7 separate regions of the Homo sapiens genome follow, and all the other regions are linked to region 1. Evidence: promoter capture Hi-C in 16 types of primary human blood cells and fetal thymus (Javierre and others, 2016). All regions are on one chromosome and are shown on one strand. The core of a region is centred on a gene start or on the middle of the fragment in contact, and the rest is flanking DNA. Distances in the headings are between cores, read along the strand shown. Region 1 holds the start of SLC43A3 (solute carrier family 43 member 3). Region 2 overlaps CTNND1 (catenin delta 1). Region 3 overlaps CTNND1 (catenin delta 1). Region 4 overlaps CTNND1 (catenin delta 1). Region 5 holds the start of BTBD18 (BTB domain containing 18). Region 6 overlaps TMX2 (thioredoxin related transmembrane protein 2). Region 7 overlaps ZDHHC5 (zDHHC palmitoyltransferase 5).

Region 1 (2,669 bases), core at 100-2,599:
TGTCCCTTAAGCTGAGTTGAAATGTGGCTGCCCCTAATTACCCCTCAGGAGCTGGTGCCTCCCTCCCAGGCACTTCCCAGATCAAGTGGGGTGAGAGCTGCTGACCCTTCCTCTCATCATAGAAAGAGGGGTGGGCAGGGGGCAGAGTCCTTCCTGCTCCTTGCCACCACGTGGGAGCCAGACTTAACTTCCTTAGAAAAGTCATCCCTGCCCTTACCAGCCTGCCCTGTGGCATTGCCAATCGGCCCAGCATCTGGTCCACACAGATCCTTAAAGTAATCTTCATTCTTGAAGACAAACACTAGTGAAGGCCAGCCAAAGAGGACGCCAGCAAAGCCCAGGCATTCCAGCAGCCCAGTCAGCAGTGTGGCCACGTGCAGGGGCAGGCCCTGGCCCGCCATGAGCAGAAGTGGAGTGGATCTTCAAATCCCACTTTGTCCTCCTGGACGGATCACAGGCGCCGTAAGCCTGGCGTTTGAGCACTTGGAAAATTCCTCTGGCAAGCCAAGCCCTTCCTTTCCCGTAGCTCTCTGGTTGTTTCAGGCCTGGGCAAAAACCATCAGCGGGTGATTCTCTGGATCCTGTAGAATAAAGATAGAGGCTGCTGGAAGAGGAGGCCTGCGGGAAAGGGAAAGGTAGACTAGAGTTATTTGTGAGGTGCATTAAGAGGCAGGATGATCATGGCCGCTGGCAGCAAATGTGGGGAATAAATACTCCAATACATCATCTTAGGCACTGCATTTGAGTAACCACGTGGCAAGTAGAGAGGCAGGTCTTGATGGCCACCTGGAGTCACAGGTGAGATAAACGACTTACCCAATAGCTCCCCGGGAGCAGGTGGAGAAGCGGAGCTCCTGCGCTCGAATTCTGAATACCGTCCCCTAAAATAATGACAGCAACTCAACCAGGTGCAGAGGCAGGGAGATTTCATACAGAAGACACAAACTCCCGCTGCCAAGTTGGTGTTATCTTCAGTTTACTGACAATGAAACAAAAGCTCCCATGGATTTCAGGAACTTGCCCAAGGTCACAGGGCTAGTTTAGTCACGACGCAGGCCATTCTACTGCCAGAAATACCCCCAACTCCCATGACCCTCGCCTAGGACTCGCAAACCTGGTCCCCGCCGCCCTTCCTCGCATCAACTTCTACCAGGAAAGCCTCCGGGGGCCGCTCCCCGCCAGCCTCCGCACCCCGCTCCAGCCTGCGGCCTGCCCTCCCCGCAGAGGAGCCCGAGGGGCCAGGCCGCGCTCGGCGCCCCATGGCGCCCGAAAGGGGACCCTTCGCCCTACCCGCCTGCTCCGCGCCGGGGCTCTCCGCGCCCTTTCCGCACGGGCCAGGTTCGCATTCGCGCCTCTCGCAGCCCCTCCCAGTCCCCTGCTCGCCTCCGCCCCCTCCTGCCCGCCCGGAAGGGGCTGGGGCAGACCTCCCACTCTCCATCACTTCCTTCTTCTTTTCCCTTGCTCACAGCCTCCCGCGCCCTTTTTACCTCTCCCTCTTGAAACTTCTCCCTCTAGAACCCCCTAGAACCCCAGCGGTGTCTTTCCCTCCCTCCTCGCTGCCTTTCAGCCTCCCAGCCCCCTTGCCTCTGCCTCCCCTAACCAAGTTAGTTGAATGCTGTTACTCGCTCAGGCCCACCTAGGGAAAATGTCACACCCAGCACCCAGAGGACACACAGACAGCACATGAGGGCATAGGGACACACACACTCTATTTGTGCATTTTGCCTTGACCGCTGGGTTGGCAGGGAACATATTTTTCCTATTTGCTCACCAGCTTAACCGTCTCTCCCAGTTTCACACTCCCAGAGCTGCCAAAAAAATCCCAACCACAGAATCAGGAAGCCAAGAACCAGGACTGAGGGCTTTTCAGAAACCATCCCCTGGAGGACTGCCCCATATTTTCACTCCCAAAAACCCCTTAGATGACTCCCTGCCTCACCCCCGCCCCCCAGGTTCTGAAAGAGCCTTCCCGCCAGACTGCATTGATTAACCATTCATTGCCCCATTTTTTATTAATCAAAGACATATATAATTGCTCATCGGAGCTTGTGATCAGCGTGAGGCCTTACTAAGCAGCTGCCTTACTATCCTTCCAGCCCAGAGCACGTGAGCTGACGTCTTCTTTGGCCTGTGTGGCCGTTTCCTTGCCAAAAGCTCAGTTTGGGGAGAGCTTCTTGCGTATTAGATGCAGTCTGCAGACTCCCAACCCCAGCTACCTGGATCCCCTGAGGGCCCAGGAACTCCAGCTATTCCAAGCCCACTCCTCTTTTTTTTAAGAGGAAGAAATAGAGGTTACGATAGGGGACAGCCAGAACTGAGGATTTTCCAGCTCACCACCAAAGCACAAAAGATAAAAGTCTGCAACCACCCTAGTGACTTGACTGAATGGAGGAAGGGTGGCTGGGGTCCTGTACCCCAAGCTACTCACTAGTTATACAACCTGAGGCAAGCTCTTTGGCTGCCCCACCTGTAAGACGAGGACAATAGTACCTTAATTATAGGAATTGTCATAAAAGAAGTATAAGATGGGTGTATGAGGTCCCTGCATGGCGCAGGTGCTATAGGCAGATTGTAGGGTAGTAGATTTTCTAGTCTGCAGTTATGTAGACAGAGCCAGAGAAGCAGCTCTGGGGAGGAATTTCAAAGGAACTTGCCCACGGTCATTCTAC
Region 2 (2,669 bases), core at 104-2,603, 390 kb after region 1:
TAATACGTAGCTCTCTTAAATATAACACTTAGGACTAGAAGATTAGAAACTACCAATCCCAACTACGTAATAGGAAAATGTAGGATCAAAAGGCCCATGTATATAAGTACTGACCACTGGGCCATAATGTTGCTTCTCAGGCTATATGCAGTCCTTTAGTCAGAAGTCAATAGGCCTATTTATTAATATTTTACAGACCATATTACCTGGATTACCAGGGACTATCTTTGCTGCAGAGATCAAGGGTTAAGATCTATGGGAAGATACTTATTTTTCTGAGGTCCTTATGTCCTGTCATATAATTAAAGACTCAAGAGAATTTATGTGAAATGCTTTCTGTATGCCCAAATCTTTAGATTAAAATTATATAGCTGCTCCTGATGATGGTCCTGTCTTGTTTTATTGAACTAGGACTTGGGTATGAAAACTTTCATGGGCTAGTGAGACCAGGAAATCAACTAGCTTTTAAAGCTTGATTTGTGTCTAACAATTGTAGTGTTAGATTAGAGGTTGAAGTACAAAGCCAAAAAGCTATTAAGAGTTTACTTTCCAAAGAGTTTTGATAGCCCTGCTTGAGATGATTTTTATCTAAATAGAAAAGCCTGGCTGCTTGTCAGCAACACTTTATTTCCCTGTTATGTTCTTATCCTTTGGCATTGAGCTAGATACAAACCCTACTCTTCTCTCTTCCTTCTGGATTGGTCCATTTGTTTATCTCATTCAATAAATATTTGCCAAGCACCTCCTATATGCTAAGCGTTGTGTCAAGGTTAGGTTTAGATTAGAGAGTGAAACAGATGGATCTTTTCTCATAGATTGCAATCCATGAGAATCCTCTATAGCTAAGATCTATGATCAGACGAGATCGTGTGCGTTCAGGGTGATATGGCCATAGACAAGATCTATGATCTTAAAAACACTTCTCTCTGTGCCATATCTAAATACAATGAGATGTTACACAGAATGATGTGTAAAGGCCCTATCTCACAAGTTTCTTGACACTGATGTACTTTGTGACAGAGGTCAAAGCTGGGACCTCACTTGGCCACTTTTTTTTTTTTAGACAGAGTCTTGCTCTGTCACTCAGGGGCACAATCTCGGCTCACTGCAACCTCAGCCTCCTGGGTTCAAGCGATTCTTCTGCCTCAGCCTCCCGAGTAGCTGGGATTACAGGTGTGTACCACCACGCCTGGCTAATTTTGTATTTTTAGTAGAGACAGGATTTCACCATGTTGGCCAGGCTGGTCTCAAACTCCTGACCTCAAGTGATCCACCCTTCTTGGCCTCCCAAAGTGCTGGCATTACAGGTGTGAGGCACTGCGCATGGCCGGCCACTTGTTTTTCTTGCTGAACTAATTTTCTTTGCTACAAACTGGAATCACCTCACCCAGGAAGAACTAAGAACCAGTCTTTCCATATCATTTTTTTCTCATTTTGTCTATTTTTATATCTGAAGCAAAGGTTCTTAATATTTTCATAGATGGAATTGACTAGACCTAGCCCTGTATATCTGAGCAAGTTACATAAGAATTCCCTGTATGCTTGTTGAAAATGCAGAGTCCCATGTTCCATTTCCAAAAATCGATTCAGTAGGTGGGACTGAGGAATCTAAAATCATGGTAAGTCATCCAGGTTATCCTCTTTTTTTTTGTTTTTGTTTTTGTTTTTTTTTTTGAGACGGAATTTCACTCTTGTCACCCGGGCTGGAGTGCAATGCCACGATCTCAGCTCAGTGCAACCTCTGCCTCCCGGATTAAAGCGATTCTCCTGCCTCAGCCTCTTGATGAGCTGGGACTACAGGCACCCGCCACCACATCCAGCTAATACTTGTATTTTTAGTAGAGACGGGGTTTCACCATGTTGGCCAGGCTGGTCTTGAACTCCTGACCTCAGGTGATCCATCCACCTAGGCCTCCCAAAGTGCTGGGATTACAGGCATAAGCCACCATGCCTGGCCCATCCAGGTTATTCTGATGTATGTGGTCAGTTAACTGTGACTTAAGGGACTGATCTAGTGACTTGCTTAAGGTTATAGCCTCAAAGTGGAACCCAGGATTACTGGCTTCAACTCCACTGGCAGTAATACTAGCATGGTGAATGTAGACAATATGATGTGGTGATCACCATTTTAAGAGAGCATTCATAGAGGAAACTTTATCTCAAAGGAATGCATTGCTTTCAATAGAGTTTGAGATAATGGTAAGTGATAGGTTGGTGTGTGGTATCTGGGTAGGAGAAGCTTCTCATCCTGAAAATCATATGTAGGTAATGCTCAGGTTGCTGAGGCAGGAAGCTAGCCCTTAATTTGGGGTCCTGTAGGTCACAGAGAATCCCCTGGAATTGCCGACTTTGACTTAAGTGTCACTTCTAGCTACAAAGGGTATCTCAACTGGCGAGCAAGTGGCCCCATTGGCTAAAGCCAAGGAGACCACATCTGGAAACTTAAATCACTCTGGTAGCTTCCAGAAAGAGCTACCTCAGGAAAGCTCAAAAAAGAAACAAGATAATTGTTAGGAACAATTTTTTTTCACACAGCTTTAAGACTGTTCTGTTGCCTGTGTCACTTAAAGCATTAGTTCTTCAACTGATCCATCCAGGATTTAGAGACAGACATGGATGAAGAGAAAGCTGGAGGAGGTAAGATAGGTTGATTGGTCTGCATCATTTTA
Region 3 (2,669 bases), core at 75-2,574, 370 kb after region 1:
AACCAATTTTGTTTTACCAGCTGTTTGGGCATTTTTAGTACCCCCTTCTTGATTTGAAGGGTTTAATCTTGACCTTTTTTTTTTTTTCTTCGAAATAGAGTCTCGCTCTGTCACTTAGGCTGGAGTGCAGTGGCACAATCTCAGTTCACTGCAACCTCCACCTCTTGGGTTCAAGCGATTCTCTTGCCTCCGCCTCCCAAGTAGCTGGGATTACAGGTGCCCACCACCATGCCCAGCTAATTTTTGTATTTTTAGTAGAGATGGTGTTTTTCCATGTTGGCCATGCTGGTCTCGAACTTCTGACCTCAGGTAATCCGCCCACTGCAGCCTCCCAAAGTGCTGGGATTACAGATGTGAGCCACCATGCCTGGTCCTGTTTCCGTGTTATTTTAAGACCATCTTGGTCATGGTTTACTAAATGCTTTGTCCATCTGAATCACTGTTGCATAGTTGATGTTGATACCTGTGAGGCAGGCCTTCTGCTCAGGGCAACCTTGAGTATTTGTTGACAGTGGGAGTGGTTTTGTAGAACAAACAATGGCTTATTTGGAGAGCTCCACACAATAGATTATCCTCTCCTGTGGGAGCCAGAAAGAGATGAGCTCACAGATAATGGGTTTCTTCCTTCCTGGTAGTTACGAATAAATAATAGTGTGACAGACTCACCCTCTAGTGGTTGTTGGTAGTACTGAAACAGGAAGAATTGTCTCCTGGTTTGATTTTTCTTACTTTCAATTGCTTTCTCTGTTCCTAGTGGCTGGGCTTCCCAAATGTGATGTTGGTGAATAGGCTTCATTTTGAAAGAGCTGGAGGTATTGTCTTTAGAAATTGGAGGATGGAATCTTACCTCTTAACACATTTGTTGAGTAGCAGACATGACCTTGGAATGACTGTGAAAATTACTTTTCAAGTTTATACCTCATCAGTACCAAAGCCAGATCCTCCTGTGATGTAGCAGGAAGCCCTTTATTAGTTTTTCTCTATCAATCCATCTTTTATAATTTCCAAAATAGGATAAGGAGAAGCTTAAATATGAAATGTATTTAAAGGTCTTATCCTACCAGTTGTTTCCTGTGTGTAAATGCCTAATTTCCTGTTTGGTTAAGGAACTGTTCTCAGACTTCTGTGGCATTGAGTCAGTTGCTTTGGTTAATTCTGTTCTCTGAGAGTTTATCCTGATCTCTACCTAGACAAGTTAATAACTGTCAGATATCATTCAAATAAATGATAAGTAGTAAGGATTTGGTTCTTTCTTTTTGATTAGCCTTTCCTGAATGCTTGTTACTTTCTAAGCCTGCAGACTTCAAAGAAAAAAATGTAGTTTTAATTAAATTGCAGGTGTTTTTAAAATTATTACCTTTTATTTTTACTAACCCATTGAGGAAAATTGATCAGTATATTATTCATGCAAAGGAGAGATAAGATGAGCACACTGAAACTCCAGTTAATCCTCCTTTGCAGATGAGGGTAATGGGAATGTCCAGGAAGCTAGCCATAATGACTTGATGTATTCTCTTGGTTCTTCCAAAACTTCTCAGGAGCTATGAAGACATGATTGGTGAGGAGGTGCCATCGGATCAATACTACTGGGCTCCTTTGGCCCAGCATGAGCGAGGAAGTTTAGCAAGCTTGGATAGCCTGCGCAAAGGAGGGCCTCCACCTCCTAATTGGAGACAGCCAGAGCTGCCAGAGGTGATCGCCATGCTTGGATTCCGCTTGGATGCTGTCAAGTCCAATGCAGCTGCATACCTGCAACACTTATGCTACCGCAATGACAAGGTGAAGACTGACGTGCGGAAGCTCAAGGGCATCCCAGTACTGGTGGGATTGTTAGACCATCCCAAAAAGGAAGTGCACCTTGGAGCCTGTGGAGCTCTCAAGAATATCTCTTTTGGACGTGACCAGGATAACAAGATTGCCATAAAAAACTGTGATGGTGTGCCTGCCCTTGTGCGATTGCTTCGAAAGGCTCGTGATATGGACCTTACTGAAGTTATTACCGGTGAGTTCTAGGCCTAAGGAAAATTGCTAAGTCAGTGTTACTCTCTAGTGATGTTGAGAACTAGAGGGATTTCCAGACCTTTTACTTTTGATGAAAGGTTGTGAACTGGTGGCTGTGGGTCAAATCCATCTCACAGATTTGTTTGGATCACACAGCATTATTGAAATTTTAAAGAACTGGTTGCTGATGTTTAAAATTCAGAAGATTTCACTTAAAATTCCAGATTCTTGGCTTCTATTAAAAACGTGGAAGAGTTGTTAACAATGGATCTCTTTTCTTCCTTAGCAGTATTTGGTCTGAACTGATTGGAGCATGTGCTCTCTAATTTACACTAATCTCCAACACATTCTATTATCTGACCAACTACAGCTGTTTAGGAAGTTGTTTCCCAAACATGGAGCTGTCAACTGCTATTTTTTCACATGCTTGTAATTTCTTTTAATTATCTTCCTCTCTTGACTCACCGGCTTGACCCATATAGACATTTAAGCTTGTGGTTCTTGCTTTATTTAGAGCAGTAGTTTTTCAGATTGTGGGTTGTGATCTATTTGTGTGATCCGTTAGTGAATAAAACAAAATTTTGTGGAGCATAATCAGCATTCCAAGGGAAAGGAATAAAGAAAAAGTAGTATAGACCATTGTTTCTCAGTTGTGGGCCATTTTGCCT
Region 4 (2,669 bases), core at 112-2,611, 360 kb after region 1:
GTGTGTGCGTCATGCATGCTCCACAGAGAAGCAGGTTTTTTTCTTTCTGTACCCTTTCAGTCCTGGGCCCCCTCACTAGCTGAGAGCCACACCCTTCCTTGGCTTCAAAGCCAGCCCAGCACTAAGCCATTTTAGTATGTTATGGTTTAGAGGGGGTTCTCAGAATACTTGGGAGGGGAAAAGAGAGAAAAAGAAGAATGTTTTATTTGGTCTCAGAATTTAGGAGGTCATGATGGTGGAGGTGATTTTTTTTTTTTTAAGTTGCAGTAAAAACTTTAAATATTGACAGGTAGCTTTGGGTAAGGATTATAAGACTAAAGGGAGTTTAAGGTACCCTGTTGATGTATAGAGGTTGCCAGCTCAAATTCCTTTTAACAAGGAGTATTATCTTGTTTATATCTTTGTTTTTTAAAAAATTCTTTTCTCTGACGTTCCAATCAGAGAGAATGTATCACTCTTTCCTAAGAGGAGGGTGGTCTGCCCAGAGCCTTCCTTAATTCATCAGAGAGATTCCTGGTGGACACCTAGTTTTTCCTCATGAAAATAAGACTTCTTTGGTCAGCCTTTTACCCTCTTTTAAAATAAAATCCTTAACTAAATTAAATTTAACAGTGTTTAATTGAACAAAGAACAGTTCACTAATTGGGGAGCCTTCTGAGCCACAGTAGGCTCAGAGACTCCAGTGCAGACGTGGTAGAAGATTTATGGACAGAAAAAGGAAAGTGATGAACAAAAAATGGAAGTGAGGTACAGAAACAGCTGGATTGGTTATGGCTCAGCTGGAACAGTTGGCCCCCTTTGAGTGGCCAAAACTCAGTGATTGGCACAAGAGTAGGTTACAGTCTATTTCTACCACCATTTAGGTTATAGTTCATTATGTACAGATAAATCTTTAGGCCAAACTTAAAAGATGTAAGGAGGCATAAACTTGCCTAGGCTAAACTTGATTTAACACTTCTAAATGGAGAAGTTGGGCCTAGCAGGAAGCAGATCCATGAGGAAGCATAGAAAGAGTGAACACTAGGAGAAGGCCATATCCAGAATAATACAGGTTTTGTGACTTGAGTAGTGCTCAGTTGAGATTGTGAAGTGAGCACAGTCCTTTTAATCTTAACGCAAATCAGCTTCAGGGACTTGGAATTAACAGAAGATGAGTCTTCCCAGTGAAGTGAGAAATACTAGAACTGTTCTGACTGAGCATGAAGGTGGAACATGGTTGGGCATGGTGGCTCACGCCTGTAATCCCAGCACTTTGGGAGGCCAAGGCTGGTGGGTCACTTGAGGTCGGGAGTTCAAGACCAGCCTGGCCAACGTGGTGAAACCGTGTCTCTACTAAAAATACAAAAATTAGCCAGGCATAGTGGCACATGCCTATAGTCCCAGCTACTTGGGAGGCTGAAGCAGGAGAATTGCTTGAACCTGGGAGGTGGAGGTTGCAGTGAGCCGAGATGACGGCATTGCATCTGGGCGACAGAGCAAGACTCCATCTCAAAAACAAACAAACAAACAAAAAAAAACGTGGAACATCAAGTGGAGGTAGGGCGGGGTACTTAGACTTTGGACTCTGGTATAAGCACTGATAAGAAGCCATAGAAAGGCCGGGCTCACGCCTGTAATCCCAGCACTTTGGAAGGCCGCGGCGGGTGGATCACGAGGTCAGGAGATCGAGACCATCCTGGCTAACACGGTGAAACCCCGTCTCTACTAAAAATACAAAAAATTAGCCGGGCGTGTTGGCGGGCGCCTGTGGTCCCAGCTACTGGGGAGGCTGAGGCAGGAGAATGCTGTGAACCCGGGAGGCGGAGCTTGCAGTGAGCCGAGATCGCGCCACTGCACTCCATCCTGGGTGACAGAGCGAGACTCCATCTCAAAATAAAAAAAAAGCCATAGAAAATCTTGACAAAATATATTTCTTTGATTTAGAAACAAAATGGCAAGTTTGTTTGTGGTTGAACCGGAATATTTCTTCAAATTTGGGGTCAGGTGCCAGTTAAGGCAAATAAATGCCTTTTAGGTATCTGAAGGGCCCCTTTCTGGCTTGAATGTTATGTAATACAGTTCTGTAGTGTTACAGGTGCTATATTTTGTTGATTAGTATTCTGCAGTAGGAGGCTTGGTATGCTATTTATTTATTTATTTACGTATTTATTTTTGAGACAGGGTCTTACTCTGTCGCCCAGGTGGCAATGTAGTGATTGTGGCTCACTGTGGTCTGGACCTCCTAGACTCAAGCAATTCTCCCACCTCAGCCTCCTGAGTAGCTGGGACTACAGTGTGCACCACCATGCCCAGTTAATTTTTGTAATTTTTTTGTAGAGGTGGGGTTTTGCCATGTTGCCCAGGCTGATCTTTAAACTCCTGGGCTCAAGTGATCTGCCCACCTTGGCCTCCCAAAGTGCTGGGATTACAGGTGTGAGCCACTTTGCCCAGCCCAGTGTGCTTTTGAAAAAAGCCCTTTGCATTCCCTAGAATGGCTGGGCACAGTGGCTCATGCCAGTAATCCCTGCACTTTGGGAGGCCAAGGCAAGAGGATTGCTTGAGCCCACGAGGTCCATGCTGTAGTGAGCTGTGATCACACCACTGCACTCTAGCCAGGGCGACAAGAGCTAGATCCTGTCTCAAAAAAAAAAAAAAAAAATTCCCTAGAACGACATGGAAATGGAGTTTTG
Region 5 (2,669 bases), core at 103-2,602, 320 kb after region 1:
GGGTGGATCACTTGAGGCCAGGAGTTTGAGACCAGCCTGGCCATCATGGCAAAACCTCATCTCTACTAAAAATACAAAAGTTAGCTGGGCGTAGTGGCGCATGCCTGTAATCTCAGCTACTTGAGAAAGCTAAGGCATGAGAATCACTTGAACCCAGGAGGTGGAGGTTGCAGGTAGCTGTGATTGTGCCACCACACTCCTGCCTGGGCAAGAGAGTGAGACTCTCAAAAAGAAAACATAATAGTATCATCTAACACATATTGTGGTTAGTATATTAAAAGCACTATTCTAAGTGCTTACCCACATTAACTCTTAATCTTCACAACCATCCCATTGGAATATTATCCATGTTATATAGAATGTATCTGCTTATAAAACTTTACAATTAGATTCATTATTTAAGAGAAAGAAGCAAAGTCACAATTTCACTCTTGAAAACAGTAGTAATTGTCCTAGAAACAAACAGCCCTTTACCAAATAGTTTACAGTGGTCATAGGCAGTAATATTTTGCTGATTTTGTCCTTTACCCTCTGGCTCTGAACTCATTTTATCTTATTCTATGGTGAGTTTTCAGTTGAATTCCGACCACTCTCTTACCTTCTGCCTGCAGAAGGACATCACAGAACACATCACTCTGCTGCTGGTGATGAAGCTGCAGAAAAGCTAACCTGAGGAACCGGGGGTTCCTGTATAGGATTTTGGGACTGGCAGGAGAGCACATGTTGGCAAGAGTCTTAACAAACCTTCTAGGTTTTCACAGATCAGACTCCTGTAGGTGAGATAATACATTTCAGAGGCATGGTTACATCTAATTTGTTTTTTGTCTTTGAAATGGCAGGGGAATTTTGAAAGTGAGAGATAATAGTATGAGTTGAGGAAACATCAGCCCAGAAATTGTGCCAAGGATATCTCAAGAAAGAAAATTATCATAGTGGTTACATGTGGGAGCTCAGAGATAAGCCTAGGTTTGGGTCTTGGCTCTATTTATTAGCCTGGCTGTATAATCTCACACAGGTGACCTAACTTCTCTGAGTCTCACTTTCCTATCCATGAAATAGAATAATAGTACTTACCTTGTAGGGTTGTTTTAAAGATTAAATGAGTCAGTGAAGGTAAAGTTGCTTAGCACAGTGAGTGCCTGGCACAAAATAACTACCAAGCCCCAAATGGTAACTATTATTATCCTTCAACCTTCCTCATTTCCATTACCACTGAGACTCAACTGCTACAATGCTGACTACTTATATTCTTCCTGAGCACCACATCCCAGCTCCACAGGTATAATCTTCAAGTTAACACTTTTAAGGAAACATTACTGGGTATAAAATTATCTCTAGTAAGTCGTATGCGCCTTTTCTCTGAGCTCACTGTATCACACTAACCAGCAGAGGGTGCACAATAAAGAAGAGAAGCCTCTGACTCTGCGGGAAGGTCTCTCACAGAACCAAGGACGTTGCCACCCTTGGCTGGGTGTACTTGACCAAAGCGAGCCTGACTGACCCTGGTAGTAGGCAAAGAATTTGGCCTTTACGTTTGTATAGTTAATTACCAGGCTAACAATGCAGCAAGGATAGTAAAGCATTTTACCCCTCCCAAAACAAACTGAGTATTCTGACTTCAGGCTTATGTCCAGCTTTTTAGCTCCGAAACCCCCCCACTCACTGCACAGCTGTGTTCCTTTCCTGGAATGCAGTTTTCTATCAGGTAGCACTGAGGGTCCGAACAGTTCACGTCAAAACTATCAGGAAAGAAGAATGAAAAGGTAAATTAAGAGAAGGCGGGCTTGGCTGGGCGGGGTGGCTCACGCCTGTAATCCCAGCACTTTGGGAGGCCGAGGCGGGTGGATCACCTGAGGTTAGGAGTTTGAGACCAGCCTGGCCAACATGGTGACTCCCCGTCTCTACAAAAATACGAAAATTAGCCGGGCATGGTGGCAGGCGCCTGTAATCTCAGCTACTCAGGAGGCTGAGGTGGGAGAATCGCTTGAACCTGGGAGGCAGAGGTTGTAGATAGAGCCACTGCACTCCAGCCTGGGCGACAGAGCGAGACTCCGTCTCAAAAAAAAAAAAAAAATTCCCATCCCAGTGAGAGAGATGTGGATGGAGGATGGCAGCTGTTGCAAGGGCCCTGGGGAAGCTTCTCAATCCACGATCGCCTGGCCTTGCCTCCAGACCCAACTTGAAATAGCTTTTCGGTAGACTTTGCTCCTGTTGCCTTCTCTGTGCTTGTCCTCTGTCCAGCCTGCCTTGCTTCCTCTCAATGTTCAGCGTTGAGTCAGGAGGCTGAGCAAAGATGCGCAGGTGGGCCAACGGCTGAGTGCTTCACCTCCCCATCCAGAAGCAAGGGAATCGGTGTTGGCGGAGAAAGCAGGGCTTCAGGGAGAGCCCTGCAAAGCGGGGTGGCCCGCACGCTTGGGCGCCCTGGCCCAACTCCTTTGAAGAAAGACTCCTAGGCGCGAGGGTTTCTGGGAATGGACCGTGGGGATCCGGGAGGCCCAAAGTCAGGACTTCCCGTCACGGCCACCTCCGCCAGCATAGACTTTGCAGGCAGCCCCTGGCGCCCTTGTATCCCTGCGGGCTTCAGCACCCACATGCACTGGGTGGTAGTGATAGCGAGGGTTGTAAGGCCACGCGGCCAGCGCCACACACCTCGTGCCACCGTCCTAGCG
Region 6 (2,669 bases), core at 124-2,623, 290 kb after region 1:
ATCTGTTTAACAAAGCACATCTTGCACCGCCCTTAATCCATTTAACCCTGAGTGGACACAGCACATGTTTCAGAGAGCACAGGGTTGGGGGTAAGGTCACCGATCAACAGGATCCCAAGGCAGAAGAATTTATCTTAGTACAGAACAAAATGAAAAGTTTCCCGTGTCTACTTCTTTCTACACAGACACGGCAACCATCCGATTTTTCAATCTTTTCCCCACCTTTCCCCCCTTTCTATTCCACAAAACCGCCATTGTCATCCCGGCCCGTTCTCAATGAGCTGTTGGGTACACCTCCCAGACGGGGTGGTGGCTGGGCAGAGGGGCTCCTCACTTCCTAGTAGGGGTGGCCGGGCAGAGGCGCCCCTCACCTCCCGGACCGGGCGGCTGGCCGGGCGGGGGGCTGACCCTCCCACCTCCCTCCTGGACGGGGCGGATGGCCGGGCGGGGGGCTGACCCCCCCCCACCTCCCTCCCGGATGTGGGGCTGACCCCCCCACCTCCCTCCCGGACGGGGCGGCTGGCCGGGCGGGGGGCTGACCCCCACACCTCCCTCCCGGACGGGGCGGCTGGCCGGGCGAGGGGCTGACCCCCCCACCTCCCTCCCGGACGGGGCGGCTGGCCGGGCGGGGGGCTGACCCCCCCACCTCCCTCCCGGACGGGGCGGCTGGCCGGGCTGAGGGGCTCCTCACTTCCCAGTAGGGGCGGCCGGGCAGAGGCGCCCCTCACCTCCCGGACGGGGCGGCTGGCCGGGCGGGGGGCTGACCCCACCTCCCTCCCGGACGGGGCGGCTGGCCGGGTGGGGGGCTGACCCCCCCACCTCCCTCCCGGACGGGGCGGCTGGCCGAGCGGGGGGCTGACCCCCCCACCTCCCTCCCGGACGGGGCGGCAGGCCGGGTGGGGGGCTGACTCCCCCACCTCCCTCCCGGACGGGGTGGCTGGCCAGGCAGAGGGGCTCCTCACTTCCCAGTAGGGGCGGCTGGGCAGAGGCGCCCCTCACCTCCCGGACGGGGCGGCTGGCCGGGCGGGGGGCTGACCCCCCCCACCTCCCTCCTGGACGGGGCGGCTGCCGGGCGGAGACGCTCCTCATTTCCCAGACGGGGTTGGTGCCGGGCAGAGGGGCTCCTCACTTCTCAGATGGGGCGGATGCTGGGCGGAGGGTCTCCTCACTTCTCAGACGGGGCGGCTGGGCAGAGACACTCCTCACCTCCCAGACGGGGTCGCGGCCGGGCAGAGGCGCTCCTCACATCCCGGACGGGGCGGCGGGGCAGAGGCGCTCCCCACATCTCAGACGATGGGCGGCCGGGCAGAGACGCTCCTCACTTCCCAGATGGGATGGCTGCTGGGAAGAGGCGCTCCTCACTTCCTAGATGGGATGGCGGCCGGGCAGAGACGCTCCTCACTTTCCAGACTGGGCAGCCAGGCAGAGGGGCTCTTCACGTCCCAGACGATGGGCGGCCAGGCAGAGACGCTCCTCACTTCCCAGACAGGGTGGCGGCCGGGCAGAGGCTGCAATCTCGGCACTTTGGGAGGCCAAGGCAGGCGGCTGGGAGATGGAGGTTGTAGCGAGCTGAGATCACGCCACTGCACTCCAGCCTGGGCACCATTGAGCACTGAGTGAACCAGACTCCGTCTGCAATCCCGGCACCTCGGGAGGCCAAGGCTGGCGGATCACTCGCGGTTAGGAGCTGGAGACCAGCCCGGCCAACACAGCGAAACCCCGTCTCCACCAAAAAAGTACGAAAACCAGTCAGGCGTGGTGGCGCTTGCCTGCAATCGCAGGCACTCGGTGGGCTGAGGCAGGAGAATCAGGCAGGGAGGTTGCAGTGAGCCGAGATGGCAGCAGTACAGTCCAGCTTCGGCTCGGCATCAGAGGGAGACCGTGGAAAGAGAGGGAGAGGGAGACCGAGAGGGAGAGGGGAGAGGGGAGAGGGGAGAGGGGAGAGGGAGAGGCAGAGGCAGAGGCAGAGGCCAGAATTTGTTTTCATTCTTTATTTTCTTTCCCTAGCTTTTTATTGTTGTTGTTATTTAGTTTTTATTTCATAATCATAAACTTAACTGCAATCCAGCTAGGCATGTAAGGGAACAAGGAAAACACGGAACCCAAAGGGAACTGCAGTGAGAGCACAAAGATTCTAGGATACTGCGAGCAAATGGGGTAGAGGGGTGCTCTCCTGAGAGGAGAGCACAGAAGGAATGGTCTGGTGGTGAAGACAAAACAAGTCAAACTTACTAGACTTATCCACAGTCAGCAATGGTGATCTTCTTGCTGGTCTTGCCATTCCTGGACCCAAAGCGCTCCATGGCCTCTGCAATATTCATGCCTTCTTTCACCTTGCCAAAGACCACATGCTTGCCATCCAACCACTCACTCTTGGCAGTGTAGATGAAAAGCTGGGAACCTTTTGTGTTGGGTCCAGCAATTGCCATGGACAAGGTGCCAGGACCTGTATGCTTTAGGATGAAGTTCTCATCATCAAATTTCTCCCCATAGATGGACTTGCCACCAGTGCCATTATGGCGTGTGAAGTCACCACCTGATACATAAACCCTGGAATAATTCTGTGAAAGCAGGAACTCTTACAACCAAATCCTTTTTGTCCAGTGCTCAGAGCACGAAAGTTTTCTGTTGTCTTTGGAACCTTGTCTGCAAACAGCTCGAAGGAGATG
Region 7 (2,669 bases), core at 86-2,585, 270 kb after region 1:
CCTTTGGCAAAAGTTTTCACTTCGATCCACTATCCAGTGGCTCACGCTCCTCCAGCCTCAAGTCAGCCCAGGGCACAGGCTTTGAGCTGGGCCAGTTGCAATCCATTCGTTCAGAGGGCACCACCTCCACCTCCTATAAGAGCCTGGCCAACCAGACACGCAATGGAAGCCTATCTTATGACAGCTTGCTCACACCTTCAGACAGCCCTGATTTTGAGTCAGTGCAGGCAGGGCCTGAGCCAGACCCACCTTTAGGCTATACCTCTCCCTTCCTGTCAGCCAGGCTGGCCCAGCAACGGGAAGCTGAGAGGCACCCACGTTTGGTGCCAACTGGCCCAACACACCGAGAGCCCTCACCAGTCCGTTACGACAATCTGTCGCGCCACATTGTGGCCTCTCTCCAGGAACGAGAGAAGTTGCTGCGCCAGTCACCCCCACTCCCGGGCCGTGAGGAAGAACCAGGCTTGGGGGACTCAGGCATTCAGTCAACACCAGGCTCGGGCCATGCCCCTCGTACTAGTTCCTCCTCAGATGATTCAAAGAGATCACCTTTGGGCAAGACTCCACTGGGACGCCCAGCTGTCCCCCGTTTTGGCAAGCCAGATGGGCTAAGGGGCCGGGGAGTAGGGTCCCCTGAACCAGGCCCAACAGCCCCATACCTGGGCCGATCGATGTCTTACAGCAGCCAAAAAGCCCAACCTGGTGTCTCTGAGACAGAAGAAGTGGCCTTGCAGCCATTACTGACACCCAAGTAAGTATTAGTACTATCCTGACCCTTAGCCAATTTCAAATTAGCATACTGCTCTGCAAAAGCTATCAGGGCTTCTGTTGTACATCCTAATGTAGGTGGACCCAGGGGTATCCTGGTAGCTCTTTATTTTCACTTTGACTCTACCTGCCTTCATGGGCAATTCCTGTTAAGAGACTGAAGATTAATACTTTTTCCATAATGCTATCTTCCTAAAAGTATTTGCTTGGGAGTAAGTACATGTGATAGCTGTTACTAGAGAGTAGTAGTACATAGGAGAGATTGGGAATCAGGCTTATTTTAAGCAGGGCAATAAAGGGGAATGTTTGGGTAAGAAAGTATGGATATAGAAAAGAACATCATTTTTTTCTCTGAACCTTTGAAACTGTCTCCCTTTCCAATGTTTTCTGTCCCATTTCCTGACACCTACGTCTTGTCTCTTCTTTCCAGAGATGAAGTACAGCTGAAGACCACCTACAGCAAATCCAACGGGCAGCCCAAGAGCTTAGGCTCAGCCTCCCCTGGCCCAGGCCAGCCACCTCTCAGTAGCCCCACGAGGGGAGGAGTCAAGAAGGTGTCAGGGGTTGGTGGTACCACCTATGAGATTTCGGTGTGAGCCTTCGGCACCTCCCCTCCCCAACGCCTCTGCGCCTACACCAAAGGGCCCCAGGTGGCCACCTTCCTTCCCTCAAGGGGCTCCCCTCCCGTGCATGGACATTTTTTAAACCACCGATTCCAAGAGGATGAGGAGTGTTTTCTAAAATGCAGTAGGCTTGGGGAGTCGGAGAGTTGGGGCCCTGAGACTGGGGTAGCAACCCCCCCTTTTATCTTTTAAGACCTTCCCTTCCTTGATCCCTGGACCAGACTCAGTGGACATTTGTGCAATTGCTCGCCCTGGAGGGAACCAGATCATTTTTAAACCAGAAATAATTTTTTTTATTATTGTTACGGATTCTATTTTTTTCCTCTTCTGCGTTACCAGGTGTGTGTGTACATATAATATATATATATATATATTATAAATATCAAAGAAATTATATATCTATCCTGGGATGGGAAAATGAGGGAGGGATACATATACGGAGGGGGATCTTACTCTTCCCATTCCTCAGACCAGCAGGAAAAGAGGGGAGACGTCAGTCTTTTTCCTGTGGTTCCCTCTCATTTGTCCCAGTTACTAACTACGGAAATAGCATCCTCTGCTGGTGCTAAGTGTGATTAGGAAGAAGCCTGGGGAGAGGTGAGTCTGGAATTTTGGTCACAAGAGGGAAGGACTTGGAGAGGAGAATTAGTTTTCTAGGCTCATTGGCATTTAGTTTCCCTAGGAAAGGGGTCAAAACTTCAAGACACTGGTGGTGGTGGGAGATCAGGAAAATAACTTGGCCTAGCTCAAACAATATTGGATAATCCCCTCCTTGGGGGAGAGGGATTAGAGTGTGCTCCTACTGGCCCCTTGGAGCCTCCCCTAGCTTACACAGTTAACTTGATTTTAAAATCCAAGGCCAGGAGAGAAGAATCCAAAAAGCAATATTTTTCATCACATGCCAAAAACGGGGGATAGAGAGAAGGAGTGGCAGGCCTAGGCCCCTCCGATTGTCCCTTGGGGGTTACCCCTCAGCCCACCTCACTATGGTGCTGGGTAGAGGGGATACCTGGGTTCTAACCTCTAAATAGGGGAGATCCCAGCCTCCACAAAGAGGCCCTTTTATTTTTTATTCTGATTAGCCATTTTAAACCAACGAGGAATAAAAAGAAATCCTGATCTAACCAGCGCCCCCTGACTTGTGTTATTTTGTCTGGTTGAGACAGGGTGAACGATCTCTGGTGGGAAGTTATCAGTGACAACCTCATAAACTTCTCTGGTCCCAGCCCATCTTTAGGCAAGACTATAATGAAATTAGCCACTTAACAACTAAAAAAA

What was found. The method cuts DNA at HindIII sites, captures the fragments that hold promoters and counts their contacts. A CHiCAGO score of 5 or more calls a contact.
Region 2: a fragment that was not itself captured here is called in contact with the fragment with the promoter of SLC43A3 in region 1 in 6 of 17 cell types (fetal thymus, neutrophils, naive CD4 T cells and 3 more); the score reaches 7.1 in fetal thymus.
Region 3: a contact is called between a fragment that was not itself captured here and the fragment with the promoter of SLC43A3 in region 1, in 4 of 17 cell types (fetal thymus, total CD8 T cells, erythroblasts and 1 more). The highest score is 7.9, in fetal thymus.
Region 4: a contact is called between a fragment that was not itself captured here and the fragment with the promoter of SLC43A3 in region 1, in 7 of 17 cell types (activated CD4 T cells, erythroblasts, monocytes and 4 more). The highest score is 8.1, in activated CD4 T cells.
Region 5: the fragment with the promoter of BTBD18 here is called in contact with the fragment with the promoter of SLC43A3 in region 1 in 2 of 17 cell types (total CD8 T cells and erythroblasts); the score reaches 5.8 in total CD8 T cells.
Region 6: a fragment that was not itself captured here is called in contact with the fragment with the promoter of SLC43A3 in region 1 in 3 of 17 cell types (activated CD4 T cells, total CD8 T cells and monocytes); the score reaches 8.5 in activated CD4 T cells.
Region 7: a contact is called between a fragment that was not itself captured here and the fragment with the promoter of SLC43A3 in region 1, in 3 of 17 cell types (neutrophils, erythroblasts and monocytes). The highest score is 6.8, in neutrophils.

Annotation. Positions count from the first base shown.
Region 1 is chr11:57,425,772-57,428,440 of GRCh38, forward strand. It overlaps SLC43A3 (solute carrier family 43 member 3), which reads right to left and starts at 1,350. Exons shown (of 14, transcript NM_199329.3): 1 at 1,291-1,350; 2 at 817-881; 3 at 218-581. The coding sequence starts at 401. RefSeq lists enhancers at 1-74, 1-966, 75-867 and a silencer at 1,110-1,469. The HindIII fragment of the contact is 9,438 bases long and covers 1-2,669 here.
Region 2 is chr11:57,818,800-57,821,468 of GRCh38, forward strand. It overlaps CTNND1 (catenin delta 1), which reads left to right. Exons shown (of 21, transcript NM_001085458.2): 21 at 1-741. TMX2-CTNND1 (TMX2-CTNND1 readthrough (NMD candidate)) reads left to right here. Exons shown (of 21, transcript NR_037646.1): 21 at 1-381. Among named protein-coding and RNA genes, the nearest start is that of CTNND1, 58 kb to the left of the region's middle. The HindIII fragment of the contact is 1,768 bases long and covers 470-2,237 here.
Region 3 is chr11:57,800,195-57,802,863 of GRCh38, forward strand. CTNND1 (catenin delta 1) reads left to right here. Exons shown (of 21, transcript NM_001085458.2): 7 at 1,539-2,002. It overlaps TMX2-CTNND1 (TMX2-CTNND1 readthrough (NMD candidate)), which reads left to right. Exons shown (of 21, transcript NR_037646.1): 8 at 1,539-2,002. Among named protein-coding and RNA genes, the nearest start is that of CTNND1, 40 kb to the left of the region's middle. RefSeq lists an enhancer at 319-558. The HindIII fragment of the contact is 603 bases long and covers 1,024-1,626 here.
Region 4 is chr11:57,781,790-57,784,458 of GRCh38, forward strand. All of the region lies in intron 1 of CTNND1 (catenin delta 1), which reads left to right. The region is part of intron 2 of TMX2-CTNND1 (TMX2-CTNND1 readthrough (NMD candidate)); the gene reads left to right. Among named protein-coding and RNA genes, the nearest start is that of CTNND1, 21 kb to the left of the region's middle. RefSeq lists an enhancer at 2,467-2,669. The HindIII fragment of the contact is 3,687 bases long and covers 1-2,669 here.
Region 5 is chr11:57,750,467-57,753,135 of GRCh38, forward strand. It overlaps BTBD18 (BTB domain containing 18), which reads right to left and starts at 1,353. Exons shown (of 3, transcript NM_001145101.3): 1 at 1,075-1,353; 2 at 599-770. The coding sequence starts at 722. The region is part of intron 2 of TMX2-CTNND1 (TMX2-CTNND1 readthrough (NMD candidate)); the gene reads left to right. The HindIII fragment of the contact is 11,151 bases long and covers 1-2,135 here.
Region 6 is chr11:57,715,809-57,718,477 of GRCh38, forward strand. The region is part of intron 1 of TMX2 (thioredoxin related transmembrane protein 2); the gene reads left to right. All of the region lies in intron 1 of TMX2-CTNND1 (TMX2-CTNND1 readthrough (NMD candidate)), which reads left to right. It also overlaps the pseudogene PPIAP42. Among named protein-coding and RNA genes, the nearest start is that of TMX2, 4.6 kb to the left of the region's middle. RefSeq lists an enhancer at 1-255. The HindIII fragment of the contact is 5,340 bases long and covers 1-2,669 here.
Region 7 is chr11:57,698,668-57,701,336 of GRCh38, forward strand. ZDHHC5 (zDHHC palmitoyltransferase 5) reads left to right here. Exons shown (of 12, transcript NM_015457.3): 11 at 1-751; 12 at 1,199-2,515. The coding sequence ends at 1,364. Among named protein-coding and RNA genes, the nearest start is that of MED19, 12 kb to the right of the region's middle. The HindIII fragment of the contact is 3,103 bases long and covers 1-2,669 here.